4 separate regions of the Homo sapiens genome follow, and all the other regions are linked to region 4. Evidence: promoter capture Hi-C in 16 types of primary human blood cells and fetal thymus (Javierre and others, 2016). All regions are on one chromosome and are shown on one strand. Each heading gives the region's core, a stretch centred on a gene start or on the middle of the fragment in contact. The rest is flanking DNA. Distances are from core to core; before and after follow the strand shown.

Region 1 (2,700 bases), core at 123-2,622, 620 kb after region 4:
AGAGGCAGCAGCATGGCAAAAGCCCTCCAAGAGGAACTGTCAGAACATAGATGGAGGCATCAAACTCAGACTGAAGGAGGGAGGGAGGTTACCTGCAGGAGGTGGTGTCTTACCTTCCAGGTGTCTGAGGATTATGTGTAAAATAAAGGGGAGTACAAGTGTCAAACTGTCAGCAAAGTTTTCTAACATGCCTGTTCCATGCTTTAACCCTTGAGAGGCCTCAGAGATTTGTAAATCTCAAAGTGAAAAATATCTGCTTAGTGATCACTGAAATTCAAGGATATAAACATCCGATATAATGTATGAGGGCAAATTTTACATGTCAAATCACTTAGAAACATCACTTTTAGTAAAATCATGATAGCATCGAATTTTCTTTTCATCTACTTCTGTAATTGATATTAACATATTTATACAGCCCAAATTAGTCCCACGGTTTGTAAAACCCTTTTCTTTACTGAGTATCTGTGTCAGCTTGTGATTAGCAGACTCTATAGGGTGTCTAATAAAGAAAAAGACAACATAAAACTGGAAAAAGACCTAAAAGTGTGATGGAAGTCAACGAACTTGATGCTTGCAAAATGTTCTGAGAAGGAAGGTTATTTATCTGTGTTAACAACGCCTTGAAGTCTGTTTTAGTGTGTTGTAGTGGAATGCAGATTTAATTCAGAGAAATGTGATTAGGAGAGAAAAAGGAGTTGTTAATTCCTGGATGGATCTTGGGCAAGTCATTTAATCCCAAGTCTCAGACACAGGGCTACCTCTAGCCCATATGGTTCTTATATACAAATTAGGAAAAGGCTCCCCTGTCTTTGTGGGTGTAGCCCAGCTGGCACTAGGCTTGATGAACAGAATGTGGGATGGATCTCAGCCTTCTCTTACTCCTTAGTTGTGTCTCTTTCTGTAATGAATAACCTCCTCAAGCAGATGTAGATGCCCTGGCCAGAAATCTTAACAGTAAAATGGAGCTCGTACATCTTTTATGTACCTTACAAGGTGGCTGCAGGAGTCTTATGAAAAAAAAAGTATATACATAACACACATGAGTTGTATTATACCAAATCTAATGCTCCATATTTGGAAGAAGGAGTTCAGTGAGAGTGTTGTATCAACAATCACAGATACTCTCATTAGAGATGCTCACAAGAGAACTTACAGTTTCTAATTAGACACCTGCTGCAAATGTCATTCAGGATGGCCTGAGGATGTTCATGTTCTGTGGAGTACAGCAACTCTGATTTCTTGGAAGGATTCTTTTGCTATCAAAATTCCAAACAGCAGAGCCCCAGCCACTTCAGAGAATTCTGAATCCTGTTGCCTAAATTAACAGGTGGCTGTAGGCAGAGGACTGTGTTGGCAGCCAATGGCCGCAGGTGCTGAGAGCCACCATTGATCTACTAAGCACACCAGAGGCACAGCTAAGCACAGTCTCATCTTTCTTTTGCATTGCATTGCATCCCAAATATTTGCTATTTTTTTCTAGAAGAATTAGCTCAACACGTATCTGTTTTAAAAATATTTCTAATAACTACGTTTTAGGTTTTATGGTTCCATTTAATTTATAAAAATTCAAATTACTGTGGTAAAGCAATTAAGTTTTCATTCTTTAAACCAAAATGGGAGGATGTACTCTGATTTTATACCTATGACACACACTCAAACATACTAGGCATGCTTCCTCATAGGGTCTTTGAACTTATGATGTATCTATAATACCTGGAATGCTCTTCCCTGCATATCTACACAAATAGCTCATCACCTCTTTTAAGTCTTGGAGGTTTGGTTTAATAATGTCAATGTACAGTAAATGTTTATTGAATTGAATTGCACATTGAAGGTGGTGGGAATCATTGACCCTTAATAGGTTATTTTGGACCTATTACTTTTTGAAAATTACTTAAAAATCTCTCTATATAATTATCCTTCTATTTAAAGCTGATGTTTATTACATTCCATTATTCATAAGTAGCTTTAAACAGGATTATCCATATTTTTTCCAAGTGTTTCTGCTCTTTAGTAATCTGACAGACAAGCCAACTCCTATGTTTAACATTAGCTTCTAGAATTACAAGGGGTGTGTGTGTGTGTGTGTGTGTGTGTGTGTGTGTATGCAAGCACATGCATGTAAAATAATATTTGAAATTTTTGGTGATATCCAAGACACTAAGATAAAAGTACAAAATAAAAAAGTCACAGGGGCAGTAGATGGATAGAGAATGACAGTGATCTAGAGGCTTTGGACAGCCATTCCTTTTCCCGCCTTGAAGTATTACCTTCTCATGTACCTCATACTCTTTACTTAATCCCTCATCCCAAGTTCATGTCCTTTGCAGGGACACGGATGAAGCTGGAAACCATCATTCTGAGCAAACAATCACAAGGACAGAAAACCAAACACCGCATGTTCTCACTCATAGGTGGGAACTGAACAATGAGAACACTTGGACACAGGGCGGGGAACATCACACACCGGGGCCTGTCGGGGGGTGGGGGGTAGGGGGAGGGATAGCATTAGGAAAAATACCTAATGTAAATGATGAGTTAATGGGTGCAGCAAACCAACATGGCACATGTACACCTATGTAACAAACCTGCATGTTGTGCACATGTACCCTAGAACTTAAACTATAAAAAAAAAAAATCCCTTATCCCCACCCTTTCCAAAGAAATCTTCCAAATTACTTGGATTGGCCAAATCAT
Region 2 (2,700 bases), core at 145-2,644, 600 kb after region 4:
AGCACACACTATGGACCAACTCCTGCTGAAATTGGAGTTTGACTCAATAAAGAAATAAGTGGATATTAATAATAATGAAATACAATCTATAGCAGATTTAATCAATAAAATGAGAAGTTAGCCTTTGTTTTCTTTAGTAAGTGTATTAAGGAATAAAGAAAAGACTGAAGAAAATGAAGCAAGAAAAAAGATATAGCTAAGGATGGAATTAAAGAAATTTTGACAGATGGTAAAAATAACTTGCCAAAAATAATAATAAAAAACAAATGCAGGATTATCTAAGAAGGTATAAATTACTTTAAATGACTCAGAAAGAGGTAAAAGTGGAATATATAAATAACCATACTGAAGGTCTATTCTTATAAACGACATCAGCTCAAAATGATTTATAAGCCAGTTCTATTCAACCTTTAAGGAACAGATAATTACTCTGTTAAACTTTCTGAAGCATTAAAAGTGTTGAAAAACTTTAAAATTAATTCAATTGAGCTGCATAATCCTGTTAAAAAACAGAAAATAAAAGAAAAAATAAGAGGAAACTATAGTTCAGTATCATTTATAAACATAATTACAAATAAGTTAAATATTTACAAGTTAAAATTAGCATTTTTTTCAGACAATAATGTAAATGATCAAACAAGTTTTATTCTAGAAGTGTAAGAATGATGTAGCATTCGGAAATTTATTAATATAATTTACTAAATTAACAAATTAGAGACCATTATACAATTATGTTATTACAAAATGGTATTACTCATGAATCAATCCATTCTTTTAAAAATTGTATTGTTTTAAATTGCCAAATAAACATTGTACATATTCATGGGGTACATAGTGATATTTCGATACATGTAATGTATAGTGATCAGACCAGGATAAATTAGTCTATCCATCATCTCAAACATTTATTTCTTTGTAATTTCTCATTTATTATGATTAAACATTTATCATATTCTCCCTCTACCCTTCCCAGTCTCTGGTATCCTCTATTCTACTCTTTACTTCTATGATATCAACTTTTTAAGCTTCCATATATAGTGAGAACATGCAATGTTTAACTTTCGTTTGCTGGTTTATTTCACTTAACATGATGTATCTCAGTTCCATCCATGCTGCTGCAAGTGACAGAATTTCATTCTTTTTTATGTCTGAATAGTATTCCATTGTGTATATATACACCACATTTTATTTATCCATTCACCTGTTGTTGGACACTTAGATTGATTCCATATCTTGGATATTGTGAATATGACTGTGATAAACATGGGCTGCAGATGTTTCTTCAATTTAATGATTTCCTTTGCTTTGGATAAATTACCAACAATGGGGTTGCTGGATCATATGGTAGTCCCAATTGTAGTTTCTTGAGGAACCTTCATACTGGTCCTTATAGTGGCTGCACTAGCTTATATTCCCACCAACAGTGTAGAGGAATTCTCTTTCCTTTGCATCCTTGCCAGCATTTGATATTTTTTGTTTTTCTGATAATAGCCATCCTAAGTGGGGTGAGATGGTACCTCATTGTGGTTTTGATTTGCATTTCTCTGATGATTAGTGATCTTGAACATTTTTTCATGGATTTGAACCCATTTATATGTCTTCTTTTGAGAAATATCTCTTCAGATTTTTTGCCCATTTTTTTTTTCCTTTTGAGATGTTTGAGTTCTTTGCATATTCTGGATATTAATGCCCTGTCAGATAAGTAGTTTACTCCCAGTCTGTAGGTTATTGTTTCACTCTGCTGACTGTTTCCTTTGTTGTGCAGAAGCTTTTTAGTTTGATATAATCCCATTTGTTTATTTTTGCTTTTGTGGCCTGTGCTTTTAAGGTCTTATTCATAAAAGCTTTTCCCAGACCAATATCTTGAAGCATTTACCCTATGTTTTTCTAATAGTTTTTTTTTTTTATCATTTTGGGTCTTATATTGTATCTTTGATCCATTTTGAGTTGATTTTTGTATAGGTGAGAGGCGGGGGGTTCTAAATTCATTCTAGTTTTAGTCATTTATGCCAGTACCATGCTGTTATGGTTACTACAGCTTTGTAGTATATTTTACGATCTAGGTGTGGAATACCTCCAGCTTTGTTCTTTTTGCTCAAGATTGCTTTGTCTATTCAGGGTCTTTTATGGTTTCATGAAAATTTTAGGAGTTTTTTCTATGTCTGTGAAGAATGTCATTGGTATTTTGATAGGGATTACATTGAATCTGCAGATTACTTTAGGTAGTATTGTCATTTTAACAATATTAATTCTTCCAATTAATGAGCATGGGATGTCTTTCTATTTGTTTGTATACTCTCCCATTTCTTTGATGAGTGTTTTGTAGTTTTTCTTGTAGAGATTTTTCACTTCCTTGATTAAACTTATTCCCAGGTATTTTGTTTGTTTTTTCATAGCTATTGTAAATGAGATTACCTTCTTGATTTCTTTTTCAGTTACTTTATTATTCGTGTATGGAAACACTACTGATTTTTGTATGTTAATTCTGTATCCTGCAACTTTACTGAATTTGTTTATTTACCCATTCTAATAAGTTTTGGTAGAATATTTAAGTTTTTCTATATGTAAGATCAGTCATCTGCAAACAGGAATAATTTGACTTTCTCTTTTCTAATTTGGATGCCCTTTATTTCTTTCTCTTGACTAACTATTCTGGCTAGGACTTCCTCAACACCATTTTTAATGAAGTCAAGCTAAAAA
Region 3 (2,700 bases), core at 108-2,607, 640 kb after region 4:
AAGTAAACGAAGGTGCTCCTGCCTTAGACATGGTGAAACTTCATTTGACTGTGAACTTATATTTGCAACAGTTTGGTTAAATTTCTTTAACATGATGAGGCATGATCCTGAGTTTGAGCCCCACAGTCCAACTTTGCTGTTTCCTTCACACACCCTGTACTTTCGAGGTCTTCATTATTTGCTTGATGATTGCTTCTAGTAAAGATTCCTCTGTCTCCACCCTTGTTTGCTGCCAAACCTCCACTTAGGCTGGCAGAGTTCAATTATCCTATTTTCTCAATAATCCTTCCCAATCTTCCCCCTCCTCCTGCACTTCATGTAAATCTATTTATTTCATCATCATGTTTCCCAAAACACATATTCTATTCCAGTTACTGGTTTATAGGCTTGTCTTCATGACTGAACTCTTTATTTTGTGTGAACAGTGACAGTCCCCTTATTTAATTGAGTATCAACAGAACCTCCCAGAGTGCAGAACATCATAGCTATTACATAAATGTTATGAAATCAAGTTGGATTTTGTATGGCTAGATACAGATGGTGCCATACAGATGTATCCATGATCATTTTTGAGTCTGTGGGATGATGCCAGTGATGATAATGGTGGTAATTAAAGTACATAAAGAACAACATATACAAAATTAAGAGATGATTAAATTTTTTCCTTCTTTCAGAAATAAAAAGTGATTCATTATTATGTTCATTATAAGCAAGTTCATTTATTAAAATGAGTTTATTGATATTTTAGGCAAAAGCAGAACAAGTTAAAATTGCTTATACCTAGACTAAAGCACCTCACTATGCATATCCAGGGAAATCTTAGGTACAGAGAGAAAGTGCACTTTCATGGTATATTTTGGGGTGCACTGGGCAGACTCCAATGGCTGAAGCTTCCTCCCATCTCCTTTATTTATTAGCTTCTGCGTCAGTCTCCATGCAGAAGCTAGAGTGATTTGACTTATTTAAGGAAGATATCAGACCATATAATTTACCTGCTTAGGACTCTCTGATGGCTTCCCAATCCTCTTAGAATAAAACACAACCTCTTTTCTTCAGCCTCTAGGCCCTGCACAGTCTGGCCTCTGCCAACCAGCCTGGGCATTTCTCACTGTGTTCTGCTTCATTCACAAGCTACAGCCAAACTCTCCTTTCTTCTCTTAGTTCAAGACACCATGTTTAGGCCCACTTCGAGCCATCTCCCCTGGAATGTTTTTCCCTCACCTCTTTAGAAGACTTGCCCCACCTTGCCATTTGGATCGCTCATTAAAGACACTTCCTTAACCTTCTCTGGTTGCCTAATCCAGATAGTTCCTCAAATCTTTCAAGAATGTCATCTTGTTTTGTCTTTATGATAGCTCTTAGCACTACCAAAACTTTTCTTGCTATTTGTTTATCTTTGTGTTTCTCTCCACTGAAAGTTATAATTCCTAATAAGAGATGCCTTGTTCATCTCTGTGTCTCAGAACCCCTAAAAGGAAAATAGGGGCTCAAAACCACTTCTTAAACAAATGAATGGGTAAATACACCACAGGAAACACAACTACTCATTCTTTTTAGTTTTCTTCCCCCTAATATTCTTTTAAATTATTTCTTTGGGCATTGGGGATAAGAACATACTCAGCTATGTTCTCTTAAATGTTTAGAAAATTAGACTAATAGAAAGTATATGCATCTTGAGATGTAAATGGTGAAAATACTCAGCTATCCTAAGACAGGTATGTAGTTTCTGCTAGAATCAAGGAGATGTAGAGAATATAGGAACTTGCTCAAGGAGATTAGCTGAAAATGAAATGAAAGAAAAGATGAGAGGAAAGTAGGGTCAAGAGAAGCTTTCTGTTTTTATTTCTAAAATGAAAGCAATATGTCTTTAAACATGTTATAGGGGCAAAGATTATATTAATTAATCAGGATATGTGTTATTGCAGAAATTTGAGATTTATTTTTCACATCTAAGGTGCTATAAATTACTCAAAGGATAATGTAACATTTTGTAGGAAGTACTAATATGTAATTATTGCCATAATCAGGGTGAGATTGTTGGATATTTATGAAGGAAGGGATCAGAAAAGAATTTTTGTATACCATGTGAGAACTTAGGTGAAGAATGCACCTGGGTAAATAAGGATTGTAATACACAATATACTATCAGATTTATTATGGACATTTCGGGCCATATTGATTGGGCCTGCTTCTTGTGGCTCAACTAGTGAGACCCGGGGTAAAATCCCTTTTCTGCTTAGTTTTCTTCATTCTTAAAATGGTAAGACTATATATCATCATCTCTAAGGTCTCTAACCAGTCTAAAACCTCTATACCTAATGGGAATGTTGTAGAATGCATTGAAAGCAGGAGGAAAGCATATAAATGAGTCCAGGTAAGGTAAAATTCATCTACTGCAAAATTCTGCCTGATGAGTTTATGTGTCACTTGGAAAGCACATGACCTCTTTTAAAGTATAGTAAATCAATTGTCAAATAGCACTAACAACGCCCTACAAGCAATTTAAGATTGCAAAATATTTCCTGGTGAAATGATACATTTTGTAGATAGAAGAAACTAAAGAATGATTTGATATAGCATTTTTGAAATTGTGGAATGCCAGTTTTATAAGACGTTAATAGGTACGGTGTAACAAATGAGTTTGGTGATCAAATAAGTGTAAAAACATTGCACCTGTTTGGGAGATTCACGAATCTTATC
Region 4 (2,700 bases), core at 144-2,643:
TAAAGAGACAAGTTTAGATGAGGAGGTGGGGCGGCGAACATGAGTGCGGACCGCACGACTTAGCCCTGAGCGCCCGATTGGCGCCCGGCTCGCCGAGCTCCCAGCGCGTCTCGCTCCGGCTCCCCGCGCCTCCAGGGTACAGAAAACAGAGTGTTTTGTAGAGCTCCAGGGTCCTAAAGGTGGGGACTGGGGACCCGCAAAAGCTGGGGTGGAGAGCACAGCCCTGACCATCTGAGCCCCCGGAGCCAGGGCGTGAGTGAGCGCCTCCACACGCCACCCCTGAAGCCCACCACGCACCTTTGGCAGAGAGGGACCCACCTCGCTTACTGCGTCTCCATCGGTTGCCTTGGCAGTGGCTGTAATCCATGCAGTTCAGAATGATGAGGGCAAAGGAGAAAAGGCGAAACTGCATCTGGGCGGTCGGGCGGGGGAGAGACGCCTCTCAAAGTCTAGGAACTGGAGGGTTCGCCCAAAGAGCCGGCGCCGGCCGCGCTGCTGGGGAGGACTCAGAGGGAGACTCGCCACTCACCCCCGGGCCGCACCGGTCAGTTCAGCGCGATCAGCATCTCTCCGCCACGAACCTGAGAGACAAGAAGCGAAAACAGGGTGTGTGGGGGATGGAGAGAGCCCCGGGGAGGCAGCTGCGCCTTCGCACGTCCCAATTTAAAGAAGAGAGGGAAGGAGGAAGCGAACCCACTGCCTAGCACGAGCCGCGGAGCGGCTTAATCCAGAGCGGGCAGCTGCGGACGAGTTGGAGAGGAAGGTGATTATAATCAGTGAATTAGCAACCTCTGCCGAGCCCTAAGCTCCGACCCAGCGGCATAATGCGTTGTGCCGGCGCTCCGGGGAAAGGAAAGAACTCTAAAGGCACTGAGAGCGCAGGGCTAAAAGAACGCTCTTAGGCCATTTGGAGTCCACGGCGGTGTACCCAAGCGCCGCAGCTGCGGCTGCCTTGGTGTGGGTTGCCTACCGTGCGCACGTCTCGGGCGGCGCGGCCTCCCTAGGCGCGGTGCTCCATCCCGGGCTCGGGAAGCGAGCCGCTTGGTTAGCACGTGGGCTGGGGAAAAGTTTGCCGAGACCGGCTGGGAGCGCCTGGCAGCTCTGGAATTCCAGCGGCCGCCGCGGGGTTGGCGACGCCAGGCAGGAGCGCGGAGCGGCGGGTGCAGCCACTGGGATGCTCCGTCCCCGCCCGCGAGCGCGGTCCCCAGGCAAGGGGTGCGCCCGCTCACACTCTCTGCCTCCCTAACCAATTGTGTCGCTTCCTGCGCTTTCTCCACGGTCACTTCACAGCTAAGATTTCTTTCTTTCCGAGCTGTAGAAGGCAGAACGCTCTCGGGAGGACGAAGTGATCCGAAGGGATGTGGCAAGCGCACTTTCCGATGGAGATGCAGACCGGCTGAGGCTTGGGATGCTTCTATAAGTAGGTGGTGCTGTGGTCCAAGGCATCTAAGTCTAGGCTGCCTCGGAGTTCCTGGGTCCTAAAGCCAGAAACGTCCCGGTTTCCCTGAGGTCCTAAAGAACGTTGACAGCCAACAGCGCGCCTAACTTGGAGCGAATCCTCTTCGGGCTTTCCAGAGTGCGGGGGATAGATAAAGAGTAGCTGGGGAGACGCCCCCTGACCTTGCTGGGTCCCAGAACCCGGCTGCTCACCCCCAAGGGGTCCTCTCCAGCCCTCTAGGGTCAGTTCCAACCTCAGCGCCAACCTTTCTGCAGGGAGATCTGACTGAAGGACTGATGACTCCCTTTAAACTTTTGCAATATGCCACAACTCTGCCACTTTTTAATTTACATCTTGTCTGTGTTTTGCAGGAAGGTATGTTAGCCGGCTGAAATTATTCATAAAACGCGCCCCCACTTTGAGGAGTGAAATGGGTATTCCCAACAGCTTTTGTTCATCCTCAGAACTGTTATTTACTTTGTTTCTTCTCCAATAAAACAAAAACCTGTGATCCGTTGCCTGAAGTGCTGAAGAAGTTGGGGCCTTGATTCTTTAAAAATAATTTTAAAAAGTTCACTTCCCACTAAAGTATTTTTCATTCTTAATCCTCCTCTCATTTCCAAAGTCTCCTGAATTAAACTTTTAGGTGCTTTGGGTTTGGGGAAAATATTCTGTTTAACAAAGTGTTACATTAAATAGACTTGATGCCATCCAATTTCATTCTGGTGAAATCTGTCCTGCATTCACTACTGTAGGAAAAAATGTATTTATTCCTTAAGCAAAAGATAAGAATTTATGCCACTAACCGTGGCAGTATGAATGTCTATAGATATGCCCGCAGTTACCATATTATTATGATAGCATTTTATACTATTTAAATTCCCTTTTCTATTCCTTCAGTTTCAGAAGATGTTCAGAAATTTGATGACTTAAAAGACAATCATATAAAAAGAATATTGCAATACTCATATTTATTAACTATTCCATTATTGCCTATTCATAACTATTTTACAGACTCACTATTACATAGTGGTATTTATGTGCTAAGAATTTCAGCAGTATGCCTTTGATGCATGCCTGAGAACACCCAAGTAAATCTGAGTTGAGGTCATTGGTCCCATTTCATAGATAAGAAAATCCATCACTGAGACTGGCCCACAGGGCACAAATAGAGTTCACAAAACACATTGCAGAAACAGTGGATCTGTTTCTTGACTTTTGAGCCTTTGATTTTTATCACAGAATTTGGAAACATTTCAGTG

The links. The method cuts DNA at HindIII sites, captures the fragments that hold promoters and counts their contacts. A CHiCAGO score of 5 or more calls a contact.
Region 1: a contact is called between a fragment that was not itself captured here and the fragment with the promoter of RSPO2 in region 4, in 3 of 17 cell types (M0 macrophages, megakaryocytes and M2 macrophages). The highest score is 8.1, in M0 macrophages.
Region 2: a contact is called between a fragment that was not itself captured here and the fragment with the promoter of RSPO2 in region 4, in 2 of 17 cell types (endothelial precursors and M2 macrophages). The highest score is 6.6, in endothelial precursors.
Region 3: a contact is called between a fragment that was not itself captured here and the fragment with the promoter of RSPO2 in region 4, in 2 of 17 cell types (M2 macrophages and M0 macrophages). The highest score is 5.4, in M2 macrophages.

The regions. Positions count from the first base shown.
Region 1 is chr8:108,704,703-108,707,402 of GRCh38, forward strand. It overlaps a transcript of TMEM74 not described here. Among named protein-coding and RNA genes, the nearest start is that of TMEM74, 82 kb to the right of the region's middle. The HindIII fragment of the contact is 8,157 bases long and covers 1-2,700 here.
Region 2 is chr8:108,682,800-108,685,499 of GRCh38, forward strand. It overlaps a transcript of TMEM74 not described here. Among named protein-coding and RNA genes, the nearest start is that of TMEM74, 100 kb to the right of the region's middle. The HindIII fragment of the contact is 743 bases long and covers 1,024-1,766 here.
Region 3 is chr8:108,723,903-108,726,602 of GRCh38, forward strand. It overlaps a transcript of TMEM74 not described here. Among named protein-coding and RNA genes, the nearest start is that of TMEM74, 62 kb to the right of the region's middle. The HindIII fragment of the contact is 939 bases long and covers 889-1,827 here.
Region 4 is chr8:108,082,227-108,084,926 of GRCh38, forward strand. It overlaps RSPO2 (R-spondin 2), which reads right to left and starts at 1,394. Exons shown (of 6, transcript NM_178565.5): 1 at 971-1,394; 2 at 319-581. The coding sequence starts at 412. RefSeq lists an enhancer at 1-533 and a silencer at 250-425. The HindIII fragment of the contact is 4,613 bases long and covers 1-2,700 here.